Linked DNA regions of Homo sapiens: region 2 is linked to region 1. Evidence: promoter capture Hi-C in human tissues and cell types (Jung and others, 2019). All regions are on one chromosome and are shown on one strand. The core of a region is centred on a gene start or on the middle of the fragment in contact, and the rest is flanking DNA. Distances in the headings are between cores, read along the strand shown. Region 1 holds the start of TOR1B (torsin family 1 member B). Region 2 has its middle 17 kb from the start of IER5L.

Evidence for each region. The method cuts DNA at HindIII sites, captures the fragments that hold promoters and counts their contacts. A contact is called where the count stands out against the background at its distance.
Region 2: a contact is called between a fragment that was not itself captured here and the fragment with the promoter of TOR1B in region 1, in 1 of the 25 tissues and cell types used here (dorsolateral prefrontal cortex).

The regions. Positions count from the first base shown.
Region 1 is chr9:129,800,786-129,807,777 of GRCh38, reverse strand. TOR1B (torsin family 1 member B) reads right to left here and starts at 4,594. Exons shown (of 5, transcript NM_014506.3): 1 at 4,367-4,594; 2 at 3,440-3,705; 3 at 415-590. The coding sequence starts at 4,565. RefSeq lists silencers at 4,205-4,324, 4,385-4,514. The HindIII fragment of the contact is 20,911 bases long and covers 1-6,992 here.
Region 2 is chr9:129,157,992-129,165,092 of GRCh38, reverse strand. No RefSeq gene overlaps it. Among named protein-coding and RNA genes, the nearest start is that of IER5L, 17 kb to the left of the region's middle. The HindIII fragment of the contact is 3,797 bases long and covers 3,859-7,101 here.

The DNA.
Region 1 (6,992 bases), core at 3,345-5,844:
GCCTCCCGGGTTCACGCCATTCTCTTGCCTCAGTCTCCCGAGTAGATGGGACTACAGGCGCCCGCCACCACGCCCGGCTAATTTTTGTATTTTTAGTAGAGACAGGGTTTCACCATGTTAGCCAGGATGGTCTCGATCTCCTGGTGATCCGCCCGCCATGGCCTCCCAAAGTGCTGGGATTACAGGTGTGAGCCACCGCGCCTGGCCCAGTGATTATTTCTTTAGTTCATTTCCACAACCCACACTGTGTGCCATGCTGAGACTGGCAAAGGAAAAGTAAAGCAGTAGGTAAGTGCCTTGTGCCAAGCAGGCACTTTCGTCCTGGTAAACAAAGTGCTGATGGTCCTCAGGACCTCATTTTATCATTGAGAGAATGAAGGGCTTGTGTGCCCCAAAAAACCGCCTCCCGCTGACCTGAGAAAGATGAAGATGGCTTTGCGGTAAGACACTCCGTCAACCTGCTCGTAGTAGTCTAGAAACGGCTTGATTGCGTCAATGATCCCGGGGTGCAATTTATCCATCTCGTCAAATATGAAAACAGAGTTCGCACATGCACTCACATTACCGCGGATCCACTTCTGTAACTGGTCCTGGACCAACCATGAAAGAAGAAACAGGATGCGAAGCTCAAAGGGTGCACCAAGAGGCGCGCAGGCTCCATCTGCTCCTCATGCACTGAAGGACGAGGTCAGAGCTCTTAGAATGGCACCCTCACCCCCACTCGCTAGGTAGCAGCTTTTCTAAAACCTTATCTCTAAAAAGTGGAAATTGGCAGAGATAGATGCTAAAATGCAGAGAAGTTTTTTCCTAACTCAAATGACTATTAAATCTGACTTTTTAAAGGTATAAGAGGTACAAGATCCGTGATTCTTTTCTTCTCTTTTTTGTCTTTGGAAACAGGGTCTCACTCTATCCCCCAGGCTGGTGTGTAGTGGCGTGATCTCAGCTCACTGCAACCTCTGCCTCTTGGGTTCAAGCGATTCCCCGGCCTCAGCCCCCCGTGTAGTTGGGACTACAGGCGCCCCGATCCCCTGCACCATGCCTGGCTAATTTTTGTATTTTTAGTAGAGACAGGGTTGTGCCATGTTGGCCAGGCTCGTCTCAAACTCCTGACCTCAGGTGATCCACCCACCTCACCCTCCCAAAGTGCTGAGATTACAGGAATGAGCCACCCGGCAAGATCCGTGAATATCATTCACTGCTAACGTAGCCATAGTTTTCATCTCTCTTGGACTACAATCTCAAGTTAGTACTATCAGACATACTGAGGAATAAGGAACTAGATCAAGACCTGCACAGTACACAGTGCCCCAGACCAACAGAGCTGACTCAATGACATTTCATGAAAAGCATCTGTTCCAGATGTTTTCTTCAAACAAACATAAAGACACTCAAGCAACAAGCCCTCAACCCCAAAGCGTGAAAGGCTATACCAGGAAACTCCCCCAGACATGCCCTCAACCATTTATATTACTCTGTTTCCGGAGATTTATGAAGAATGTAAAGAACAAGAAAATCCTTCCTTCCTTCCTTTTTAGCAGTCTTCCCTGTCTCACGTCAGTTTGTTGGGCAAACACTTCTACTTCCTTGTTCAGTTAAGTTTCTATTTCTTTCTTCAGTCCCCACCTAACAGGAGGAATTTTTTTTTTTTTTTTTTGAGATAGAGTCTTACTCTGTCGCCCAGACTGGAATGCAGTGACATGACCATGGTTCATTGTAGGCTCAGCCTCCCGGGCTCAAGCGATCCTCCCATCTCAGCCTCCCAAGTAGCTGGGACTACAGGTGCATGCCACTACACCTGGCTAATTTTTTTATTTTTTGTAGAGATGGAGTCTTGCTATGTTGCCAGTGGGAATGTTAACCTTGACAAGGACAACATTCATTTAAATGAGAACTAACCCTCCTAGACAACTTAATATAAAATGAATGTGGAAACAATATCTCAAAAGGAGAAACAGTCTCAAGGTTCAGTTCTTTGAGGCTTCCTTTGAAGAAAGCAATGCCAAGGACATGAAGGATGGGAGGAACAAAGGGAATAAAACCTGTTAAGGAGAAAAAAGACCTCTAGGCTACATTGCAAAGAGCAGAGGCAAAGCTGAGGCTGCACCAGAGGTGGGCAGCATTGAATGAAGCCACACCGGAGCAAATCCTTGAAGACTGACTGCCCCTTCTCACCAACTGCACTGCTGGGGATGTGGAATCCCTTCACTCACCAGAGAAGGTGGCTACCATGTCAACTGGGAGTTGGGAGGTTTTGGTTCTGCTACAAAGGTCCTGTTCTGCTACAAAGATTGTAGGAGTAAGTCACCTTGCCTCTGGGCTCCAGGCTCCATCTTTTTTTTTTTTCTTTTTTTTTGAGACAGAGTCTCATTCTGTTGCCCAGGCTGGGGTGCAGTGGCCCATTCTCAGCTGACTGCAACCTCAGCCTCCCAAGTAGCTTGAATTACAGGCGCACGCCATCACGCCCGGCTAATTTTGTATTTTCAGTAGAGACGGGGTTTCTCCATGTTGGTCAGGCTGGTCTCGAACTCCCGACCTCAGGTGATCCGCCCGCCTTGGCGGATCCCAAAGTGCTGGGATTACAGGCGTGAGCCACTGCACCTGGCCCTGACTACATCTCTCTTTTTTTTTTTTTTTTCTGAGACAGAGTCTCACTGTGTCGCCCAGGCTGGAGTGCAGTGGCGCGATCTCGGCTCAGTGCAAGCTCCGCCTCCCGGGTTCAGGCCATTCTCCTGCCTCAGCCTCCCGAGTAGCTGGGACAACAGGTGCCCGCCACCATCCCCGGCTAATTTTTTGTATTTTTAGTAGAGACGGGGTCTCACCGTGTTAGCCAGGATGGTCTCCATCTCCTGACCTCGTGATCCGCCCCCCTCGGCCTCCGAAAGTGCTGGGATTACAGGCGTGAGCCACTGTGCCAGGCCTTTTTTTTTTTTTTTTTTTTGAGACCGAGTACGGTGGCGCGATCTCAGCTCACTGCAACCTCTGCCACCCAGGTTCAAGCGATTCTCCTGCCTCAGCCTCCCAAGTAGCTGGGATTACAGGTGCGTGCCACCGTGCTCAGGTAATTTTGGTACTTTTAGGTAGAGATGGGGTTTCACCATGTTGGCCAGGCTGGTCTCAAACTCCTGGCCTCAAATGATCCGCCCGCCTCGGCTTCCCCAAAATGCTGGGATTACAGGCGTGAGCCACGGCGCCAGGCCCTTGGCTCCCCATCTTTTAATGGAAATAACATCCCCTACCCCACTGGACTGTTTTGGAACCAAGTAAGAGAAATGTTGTAGGAGAGCTTTGTAACTACCTGGACTAAGTGTGCCTTAACTCAGTGGAGCCGGGGGCTACAGCAACACAAAGGAAAGAGAAGCAGAGGCCAGAGTTAGTGAGCAGGTCACCCGGACCAGTCCGACTGGCCTGCAGACGAGATAATAGCGGGTTCTCTTGCCTGGTACAGTTTTATCTTCTGCTCATGAGGGAAGTGCAGAGTCGATACAAACAGGTGGACAAAGTTACTCTTCAGACCTTTTGGGTGAAGATTTTCAGCCACAATTTGACTGACAAAATTCTTGCCTGTGCCAGCCCAGCCGTGTAAGGAAAGGGTCAGTGGTTTCTTGGGATTTTTGTTGTTCCTGAAGCCAGTCAGCGCCTTGAAAATCACTTCCGTGGCTAGATGCTGTCCAAACAGCTTCTCCTCCAAATCCAGCTTGAGAGCTGCAAGAACAGCCCCAGAACAAAGAGAGAAACAGACCTTAAAAATGCATCAGCAACGCAGCACTTTCTTAGCTGGCCAAAGCAAGAAGCACAGATTATCCAGGGACACAGCAGGGTGTCTGCCACACCCTAGGGCCGAGGCAGTCAAACGATGCCACTTTCAAGATTATGTGGAGGTCCTTAACGCTTCGGGGTCTGATAAGGAAGCTAAATGTTCATTCATTCAGAGATGAACCATCGCTTGACTGAGCGCTTGCTAATCCCAGCCACCCTTGCTGACCTGCAGGAAAACCAGGGGCCAAATGTGGGCTTTCTGGGCGACGCAGCACGTCTGAAAACTACTTAATAGGGTTGGCAGGGCGCAGAAGGGCCGCCCGCCTACTTTCCGTTTCTTCCACCTGTGATCCCAAGGAACGGGAGCTTTAGAAAGGCGCTGGGGCAGCCCCACGATCTGGAGACTGTTTGCGAAGGCACCGCTTCTGCGTTCCCGCGAACGGTTCCGGGGCCGCCCCATCCGCTCCCCGCCCACCCCAGCTGGGACCACCGCCGTCTAGATGCCACGGGCCCGGTCCGTGCCAGGCGCCCACGAGGCCGTCCCTCCGCGCCCCCGCGCCCCCGCGCCCCCCGCAGCGCCGACCCACAGCTCGCGCGCGCGCCGTACCCGAAGCGTTGAGCGGCCGCTCCTCGCGGCAGCACTCGGCGAAGCGGCAGTAGATGTCATTGTAGGACAGGTAGCCGGTGATGGCCGACGCGGCCCCGATGGCTAGGCCCACGGTGATGGGCTCGAACGCCGCCACCACTCGGGCCGCCAGCAGCAGCGCCAGCGCCGCCGCGCCCCGGAGCCACCCAGCCCGCAACATCCCGCTCCTCGAAGCCCGCAGAAGCCACTGAGCCAGGCGCCCCGCGGCCAAGCGGCAGGACGGACTTCCTCTCGTGCGTCACTTCCGCCCCGCAGACCCGCCCACTCCCTTGGGGGCGGCCATGTTGGTGAGGGGCGGAGAGGAGGGCGGTGCCATCGTTCTTGGGAGTGGTCCGAAGGTGTAGGAGACTGTTTTGTTTCCCTTTTCTTTTAAAAAAATTTTTTCGGGCCGGGCGCGGTGGCTCACGCCTGTAATCCCAGGACTTTGGGAGGCCGAGCCGAGATCACGCCATTGCACTCCAGCCTGGGCAACAAGAGTGAAAAAATATCTAAAAAAAAAAAAAAAAATTTTTTTTTTTTGGCCGGGCGCCGTGGCTCACGCCTGTAATCCCAGCACTTTGGGAAGCTGAAGCGGGCGGATCACCTGATGTCAGGAGTTCGAGACCAGCCTGCTCAACGTGGCGAAACCCCGTCTCTACTAAAAATACAAAAAATTAGATGGGTGTGGTGGCGGGCGCCTGTAATCCCAGCTACTCGGGAGGTTGAGGCAGGAGAATCTCTTGAACCCAGGAGGCGGAGGTTGCAGTTAGCCGAGATCGTGCCACTGCACTCCAGCCTGGGCGACAAGAGCGAAACTGTCTCAAAAAAAAAAAAAAAGGCTGGCCGGGCGCGGCGGCTCACGCCTGTAATCCCAGCACTTTGGGAGGCCGAGGCAGGCGGATCACGAGGTCAGGAGATCAAGACCATCCTGGCTAACACAGTGAAATCCCATCACTACGAAAAATAGAAAAAATCAGCCGGGCATGGTGGCGGGCGCCTGTAGTCCCAGCTACTCGGGAGGCTGAGGCAGGAGAATGGCGTGAACCTGGGAGGCGGAGCTTGCAGTGAGCCGAGATCGTGCCACTGCACTCCAGCCTGGACGACAGAGCGAGACTCCGTCTCAAAAAAAACAAAAAAAAGCCAAAAAAAATTTTTTTAAACTTTCTTATATTTTTTTCTTATCTGATATGTATATTGGGGACAGGGTCTGGCTCTGTCGCCCCGGCTGGAGCGCAGTGGCAGGATCTCGGCTCGCTGCAAACTCTTCCTCCCAGGTTCAAGCGATTCTCCCATCTCAGCTGCTGGAGTAGCTGGGATTATAGGTGCCCGCCAACACGCCCAGCCAACTTTTGTGTTTTTAGTAGAGACGGGGTTTCGCCATGTGGCCCAAGCTGGTCTCGAACTCCTGACCTCAAGCGATCTACCTGCCTCCGTCTTCCAAAGCCTGGGGTTACAGGAGTGGGCTTATGGCTGGATTTGTTTTCTTCAGAGCTTCTCGGAGCCCTCAAGCTTTGCTTTGTTATCCCTCCCTTCACTTCGCCGGAGGTATAATGTGCGTTTCTTGGGTCGGCCCACCCGCCTGCCTTCTTCCTGAAACAGTTGCGAACTCTCCGTGCTGCGCCCTAGACTGAGCACTGGGGATGCAGCGGCCCCAAGACAGACCTGCCCAGGCTTCCACACTGAAATCCCGAGGTCCATTCTTTCATTCAGCACGCTAGGTGGCAGGCCCCTTGCTGGATGCCAGGAACGACAGCAGAGGAGGGGACGGAGTTGGCCCCTGCCCTCTCAGAGCTGACGGTCTATGGGGGAGGCCGACAAAGGGGTGAGACTCAATGCTGAGTGGGCAGAGAAGTATCGGACAGTGGTACAGGGAAGGCTTTTGTCTAAGCTGGGCACTGAGGGAGTTAGGCCAGGCAAAAAATGAGTAGAGTGTTTTAGGCAGAAAACAACAGTCAGTTTGGAGAACTGAAAGGATTCCACATGGCGGAAGGTGGTGAGAGATAGGGATGAAGAATCAGGCAGAGACTGGAAGGTGAAGTCCTTGCGAATGTTGTAAGGAGTTTGGCCTCTGTTCTGGGGGGTAATAGGGAGCCACAGAGGGTTTTACACAGGAAGCAACATGGTCAGATCAGAGATCATTCTGGCTGCTGGGTTCACAAGAAATGGAAGGCAGAGAGCCAGTGAAGAGGCTGTTGCCGTGGTCCAGGTAACTAGTCAGGGAGACAGATGAGCAAGCAGGCAGCTTATGTCCAGGGTGGGCCAAGGCTGTAATGCAGGATGCACAGAGGCCTGTGGGTGGGGAGGGATCTTCTCCTCCCTATCTCAGTTGCGATCTAAAGAATGAATGGAAGGGCCAGGTGCACTGGCTCATGCCTGTAATCCCAGGACTTTGGGAGGCCGAGGCAGGCAGGTCACCTGAGGTCAGGAGTTCGAGACCAGCCTGGCCAACATGGTGAAATCCCGTCTCTACAAAAAATACAAAAATTAGCCAGGTGTGGTGGTGCGCGCCTGTAATCCCAGGTACTCGGGAGGCTGAGACAGGAAAATGGCTTGAACCCAGGAGGCAGAGGTTGCAGTGAGCCAAGATTGCGCCACTGCATTCCAGCCT
Region 2 (7,101 bases), core at 4,508-7,007, 640 kb after region 1:
TTGCGCCACCACACCCAGCTCATTTTTGTATTTTTAGTAGAGACAGGGTTTCGCCATGTTGGCCAGGCTGGTCTTGAACTCCTGACCTCAGGCAATCCGCCCATCTTGGCCTCCCAAAGTGCTGGGATTACAGGTGTGAGCCACCGTGCCCGGCCTTCCTGATGTTTCTTAAACATTCCATGCATCCTTCCTGCTGTCCTCCCAGCTCCCTGGCACCCTCCAGGCCACTACACACACACACACACATACACACACACACACACACACCACAGAGTGGAAATCCAGTACACACACACACACACACACACACACACCCCCAGTGTGGAAGTCCAGTGTCTCCTTTAACACCCACATCAAACAGCCTGGGGAGAACTGGGAAGACTGGGGAATAAAGCTTCCCTTTGTTCATAAAAAGAAATCCAGGCCTAAGACAGATAAAGGACGTGGCCCCAGAACAGGACAGATCCATGTGGGGAGGGGCAGTGAGACCTCTAGGCAACCTGCAGACATTCCAAGTTGATGGACAGCTCCAAGATTCTTTAAGCCAAGAAAGGGATTCGGGTGTCGAGATTCCTGGGCCTTGGATCCTCTCCTCTCAGGGTCCCATATTGTTCAGGCCTCAGAAACTCAGCTAAAGCTGGCTGAAGCAAAGAGCGGATTTATTTCCTGGCACAGAAACAGGGAAGTCCATGGGTGTTTCGGCTCAGGCGTAGCTGGATCCAGAGGCTCACATGATGTCATCAGGGCTTATTCGTTACCTCTCCTTGGCCTCTTCTTAGGTTTTCTCTGCGGCCAGAACAAGAAGGCCACTGGCCAGGGATCGTGCAGTCACACAGGGCCCCATGTTCAAATGAGCCCATGCTTGGAGTCTAATGCTCTGCTGTCTTGAAATTCAACATCATTTTATCGTTGAGTTTGTGTTGAGTGAAGTCTGAGACAGTGGAGCGTGTTTGAAGCTTCGACTCAGGTGCAGTCCTGTCTCCTGCCACCTCCCCACCTCCCTGAGACAGGTTCTTGGTCCCCCTGCTACCCTGCCCCCTGGCACTCTGGTGCCCTGGCTCTGCCTGGCCTCTCCCTCCCATCCTCGGCAGGGACCTGGGCACAGGCGTAGAGAGGGTTGAGTTCAGGCATCCGTGAGCAGCACCTTGCAGGGCACGGTGACAGCCGCCACTGCTGTGCATTAGCAGCACCACAGCCTGACTGGCAGCCAACCAGAGACCGTGTCTAGACGTGGGGTGAACCTTTCACCTACCCCGATCTGGGTACTGAGGTCCTTAGAGACCACTCCTCTGCTGTAGGTTGAGGTGGGGGCCTGTGGGAAGGGGAGGTACCAGGACTCAGGACATCAGCCCAGTGGTTGGTTGGAAGGTTAATCCAGCAGCTGCCAGGCCCCATCTAGAGAGAGCACGCAGGGAGGCATAGCAGGGGTGGAGGGGGCTGGGAGGGTGTGCACCCTTGTGGCAATCTCCCATACGGAGAAGCACTATCTTAACCACCTTAACCAGGGGGTCTTCTCCTCCCCCTATAACCTTCCTGAGCCTGGCTTGTGTTTGTCTTTTCTGGCCAGTTCAAGGCACACTCAGGGACAAGCCACAGAATATGAATTGTGCAATTTCAGCGATTCTGCACATGAATTAAATGCTCTGGTATTTATATTTATAACTGGTATTACACAGCCAGGCAGAGTGGCTCATGCCTGTAATCCCAGCACTTTGGGAGGTGGGCAGATCACTTGAGGTCAGAAGTTCAATACCAGCCTGGCCAACGTGGTGAAACCCTGTCTCTACTCAAAATACAAAAATTAGCCAGGTGTGGTGGCACACACTTGTAATCCCAGCTACTCAGGAGGCTGAGGCACGAGAATTGCTTGAACTTGGGAGGCAGAGGTTGCAGCGAGCCGAGATTGGCCACTGCACCCCAGCCTGAGTGACAGGGAGAGAGGCTCCATCTTAAAATAAATAAATAAATAAATATAAATAAAACTGGTATTACGCAATATAAAGATGAATGGTAAAATTCATGCTAATTATTTACAATAATTACACCTTTCTAAGTACACCTTTCTGTACTTAGAATGACATTGAATAGAAAATTTAAAATGCCATGACAAGTTGAGAGATGGTGGAAGGAAGCGTTCTATGGACCCTTCGTGGCACTTTTTCCTGCTTTTTGAGCAAGGGGCCCTGCATTTTCATGTTGTATCGCACCCCACAGATCCTGTACCTGGCCTTGCCACTGGCATCCCCAGGATGGCATCTTCCCAGCTTAGCAGCCCTGGCACAGGGCATCTTCCCACCTGATCTAACAGAGGGCATTGGGGATGATCCTCATTGGCACAGCCAGGTCACAAGCTCATCCCAGAACCAATCACAGTGCACAGGAAAGCAGGGCCCCTGTGATTGGCCAGGTCTGGGCATGTGTCCACCCCTGAGTAGGGGGCTGACCGGCCCCACCTCAACCCTTTCTCGTGGCTTCTCCATTGGGAAGAAGGTTCTGTTGCCAGAGGAGAGGGCGCTGCACAGCCACAGGCCGCCACTGTGCGTCTTGTACACACACCTCTCGTGCTTGGTGTGAAAAAATAAAAAATGTAGATACCAGCTGGAGGAGAGACGCAATGTAGTTCCTCTCTTCCGGCTCATAGTTCCCAGTCTCCCTTCCTCTAAATGCCGGCGAGTCCCAGGGCTCAGGCCTTGGCCCCTTCTCCCTTCCTGCCACCTTCTCCTGGTCCCTTCAACCCACTGACAATTCTCTCCAGCCAGGACCTCCGTGCCGAATGCAAGTCAAGGGTCCCACCATGTTTGGCCTCTACTCTTGGGATACTGACATCTAAGAACTCGTCTGTCTGGGCCTTTCAAACCCCGGAGAGACACCTACAACCTCTGCTTCTCCCCGCCATTGCCCCGTCCCACCATCCAGCAAGTTGTTCAGGCCAAAAACCAGGGCATCGTGACTCCTTTTTTGTTCACAAAGCCAAATCCAGTCCATCAGCAAATCCTCCTTCAGAAGAGATTCACAATCAGGCCAGACACGGCGGCTCACGCCTGTAATTCCAGCACTTCGGGAGGCCAAGACAGGAGGATCACCTGAGGTCAGGAGTTCATGACCAGCCTGGCCAACATGGTGAAACCCCCATCACTACTAATAAATACAAAAATTAGCCAGGCGTGGTTGCGCATGTCTGTAATCTCAGCTCCTCGGGAGGCTGAGGCAGGAGAATCACTTGAATCCAGGAGGCAGAGGCTGCAGTGAGCCGAGATCGCGCCATTGCACTCCAGCCTGGTGACAGACACTCCGTCTCAAAAAAAAAAAAAAAAAAAGAAGAGCTTCACAATCTACCTTAGTACCATTGCTGTTGCTCTCCCAGCCCAGCCACACCACCTCCCTCCTGGACTAGTGCACTAACCTCCCTGCAGATCTCCCTGGTCTTCCTGTGTTCGCGCTTGCCCTCCTACTGGCCGTTCTCCTCCTCTCCACTCCCGTACATGCGAACATGTTGAAGTCGAATCATAGCTCTCCCCATCTCAAACCTTCCCAGTAGTGTAAATGTTTAAAACCAGCTGGTGGGTGGAGCTCACTTGAAGAATTTGCCAATTCCTGTGGTGTAAACACTCCCATTTTGGCCAATTCCTAGCTACCATGTGACATCGCTGAACATGGAGAGGGAGAGGAATGTGCACAGTCAGCTCTCGCAAGCCAGTGTGAGCACACCACTGCCCCCACTCCACTCAGAACAAAACACAGGCCGGGCGCAGCGGCTCATGCCTGTCATCCCAGCACTTTGGGAGGCAAAGGCGGGAGGATCACTTGATCCCAGGAGTTTGAGACCAGCCTGGGCAACATAAGGAGACCCTGTCTCTACCAAAAATAAAAGCCTAGCTGGGTGTGGTGGCGCATGCCTGTAGTCCCAGCTGCTCAGGAGGCTGAGGTGGGAGGATCACTTGGACCTGGGAGGTCAAGGTTGCAGTAAGCCATGATTGCACCACTGCACTCCAGCCTGGGCGACAGAGTGAGACCCTGTCTCAAAAAAAAAAAAAAGAGAGAGAGAGAGAGAAGGAGGGAGGGCAAGTGGGAAGGTAGAAAAGGAAGGAAGGAAAGGAAAGAAGAGAAGGGGAGAGAAGGGGAGGGGAGAGGGAGGGGGAAGAAAGGAAGGAAGCGAGGGAGGGAGAAAAGGAGGGAGAAAGGGAGAGAAAACAGGAAGGGCAAGCAAGGCAAACAGAGTCCTTACTATGGCCTCTGCAAGGCCCTGCTGAGCCAGCCCGCTGCCTCTCCACTCATCCCCACCCCTCCCCATCACTCAATGCCCTGTAGCCTCCTCCTTGCTGTTCCCCAAGTGTCAAAGCTGTTCCCACCTCAGGGCCTTGGTACTTGCTGTTCCCTCTGCCGGGAATGCTCTCTCAGCTCCTTTCAGGGTAATCTCTGTCACGAACTGAGGTCTCTGTTCAAGTGCCACCCTCACTACCCCCTTCAAAATAATATTTCTCTATCACAATTACCCTTGTTTCATAGACTTTATCGCTGCCCAGTATTTTGCTGTATATTTATTTGTCTATCGTCCTCACTAGACGCAAATTTTACAAGGGCAGGAAATTCACCAGTTCACCCCTCTGTCCCCAGCACCTGGAGGGAATGGCGCATGGAAGGAACCCACTTCTGGTCGGGCACAGTGGCTCACTGTGCTTGTAATCCCAGCACTTTGAGAGGCCAAGGCAGGCAGATCATCTGAGGTCAGGAGTTCGAGACCAGCCTGGCCAACATGGTGAAACCTTGTCTCTACTAAAAATATAAAAATTAACTGGGCATGGTGGTGCGTGCCTGTAATCCCAGCTACTTGGGAGGCTAGGGTGGGAGGATCGCTTGAACCCAGAAGGTGGAGGCTTCAGTGAGCCAAGACTGCACCACTGCACTCCAGCCTGGGTGACAGAGCCAGACTCCGTCTCAAAAAAAAAAACAACAAAACACTTCTGTGGGTCAGGCAGGCACTGAGAACATAGCTGTGAATGAGCCCTGGCTCTGTCACTGAAGCAGAGGTTCCAGAGGAAGGCAAGGAGGCCAGCAAAGGGGGCTCGACTGCTCCTTGGGTGCCAAGACAAGCACTGGGACCTTTATCCTGCCAAGGCAGGTGGTATCACTAGTTTTTTTGTTGTTGTTGTTCTTGTTGTTTTGTTTGTTTGAGACAGAGTCTCCCTCTGTTGCCCAGGCTGGAGTGCAGTGGCATGATCTCGGCTCACTGCAACCTCCGCCTCCTGGGTTCAAGTGATTCTCTCACCTCAGCCTCCCAAGTAGCTGGAATTACACGTGCCCACTAACACACCCAGCTAATTTTTTGTATTTTTAGTAGAGACAAGGTTTCACCATGTTGGCCAGGCTGGTCTCGAACTATTGACCTCAGGTGATCGGACCCCCTTGTCCTTCCAAAGTGCTGGCATTACAGGTGTAAGCCACCACACCCGGCTGGCATCACTAGTTTATCAAAAGCAGCGTGACTCCCACTTAGCCTCTCCCTTGCTGCTCTGCCTCTCCAACCTTGGGAATGTCCCACGGACTTCACCTGCCTGAGGCCAAGTCCATGCAGTCTGCCCGTTTCCATCAAGGGTGCTGCCCAAACTTGGGAGTGAGCTGCAGAAGCACAAACCCTCAGAGTTTGGGACACTGGGAAGCTGTCCTGCCCGCAGGGCCCTCCACGGGACCCCCAGAGCTCCTGCATTGGAGTAAGGGGAGAGCAACTTTGCAGCCAAGGCCCTGGTCAGCACCTGTTGTTCAGCTTCTTCTAGGATAACACCAGGGACAGAGGACTTACTTTTTTATTCATTCATTCATTCATTCATTCATGGTTCAGCAGGTAGTAACTGGGCATCCACGTAGTCTGGGCCAGCCCCTACTCCTGGTGCTGGGGGCCCAGTGTTGGCCACAGTAAGCCTGTGCCCTCCCTCACTGGGCTTACCATCCACTGAGAGGGAGATGATCACCAAGTGAACAAGTTCATAGATAATAAAACTTGAGATGAAACTGGGCTCATGAAGGCAACTGGAACAGAGGGCGGATGGAGGCTCAAGTTAGGAGCAACTCAGAGAAAGCTGGAGTGTGGCCGGGCACAATGGCTCATGCCTGTAATCCCAGCACTTTGGGAGGCCGAGGCAGGTGGATCACGAGGTCAGGAGATCAAGACCATCCTGGCTAACACAGTGAAACCTCGTTTCTACTAAAAATACAAAAAATTAACCGGGCGTGGTGGTGGGTGCCTGTAGTCCCTGCTACTCGGGAGGCTGAGGCAGGAGAATGGTGTGAACCTGGAAGGCGGAGCTTGTAGTGAGCCGAGATCGCGCCACTGCACTCCAGCCTGGGGGACAGAGCGAGACTCCATCTCAAAAAAAAAAAAGAAAAAAAAGAAAGCTGGGACGCCTCTCTCGGGAGGTGGCATCTGAACTGGGCCCTGAACAACCAGAGGGTGCCTCTGCTCAGCCTGGGCTCAAGCAGTGCAAGCCAAGGAAACAGCAAGTGCCAAGGCCCTGGGGCAGCAACAAGTTTGACATTTTGGAGGACCAGGCAGGGCATGGTGGCTCACACCTGTAATCCCAGCACTTTGAGAGGCCAAGGCGGGCAGATCACAAGGTCAGGAGATCGAGACCATCCTGGCTAACACGGTGAAACCCCGTCTCTACTAAAAATACAAAAAAATTAGCCGGGTGTGGTGGCGGACGCCTGTAGTCCCAGCTACTCGGGAGGCTGAGGCAGGAGAATGGTGTGAACCCGGGAGGCGAAGCTTGCAGTGAGCCGAGATCGCGCCACTGCACTCCAGCCTGGGTGACAGAGCGAGACTCTGTCTCAAAAACAAACAAAAAAAAGACATTCTGGAGGACCAGAGAGAGGGCAACATGACTGAAGTACGGGAGTGGGCGAGTGGGGCGGGGGCACAGTGGCTCATCACCTCGTGGGGCCTTCTGTGCACAGTCAGGAGCCACCCTTCAAGTAGGGATCTGATGGGAGTGACCTTCAAGCACCTCAGGGTAGAATCACCTTTAAGCACCTCAGGGTAGAGCCCAGGGACAGTGGCAGAGTGGAGTCAGGAGAGCAGAGAGGAGATGCTGCTGGCCAGCGCTCCTG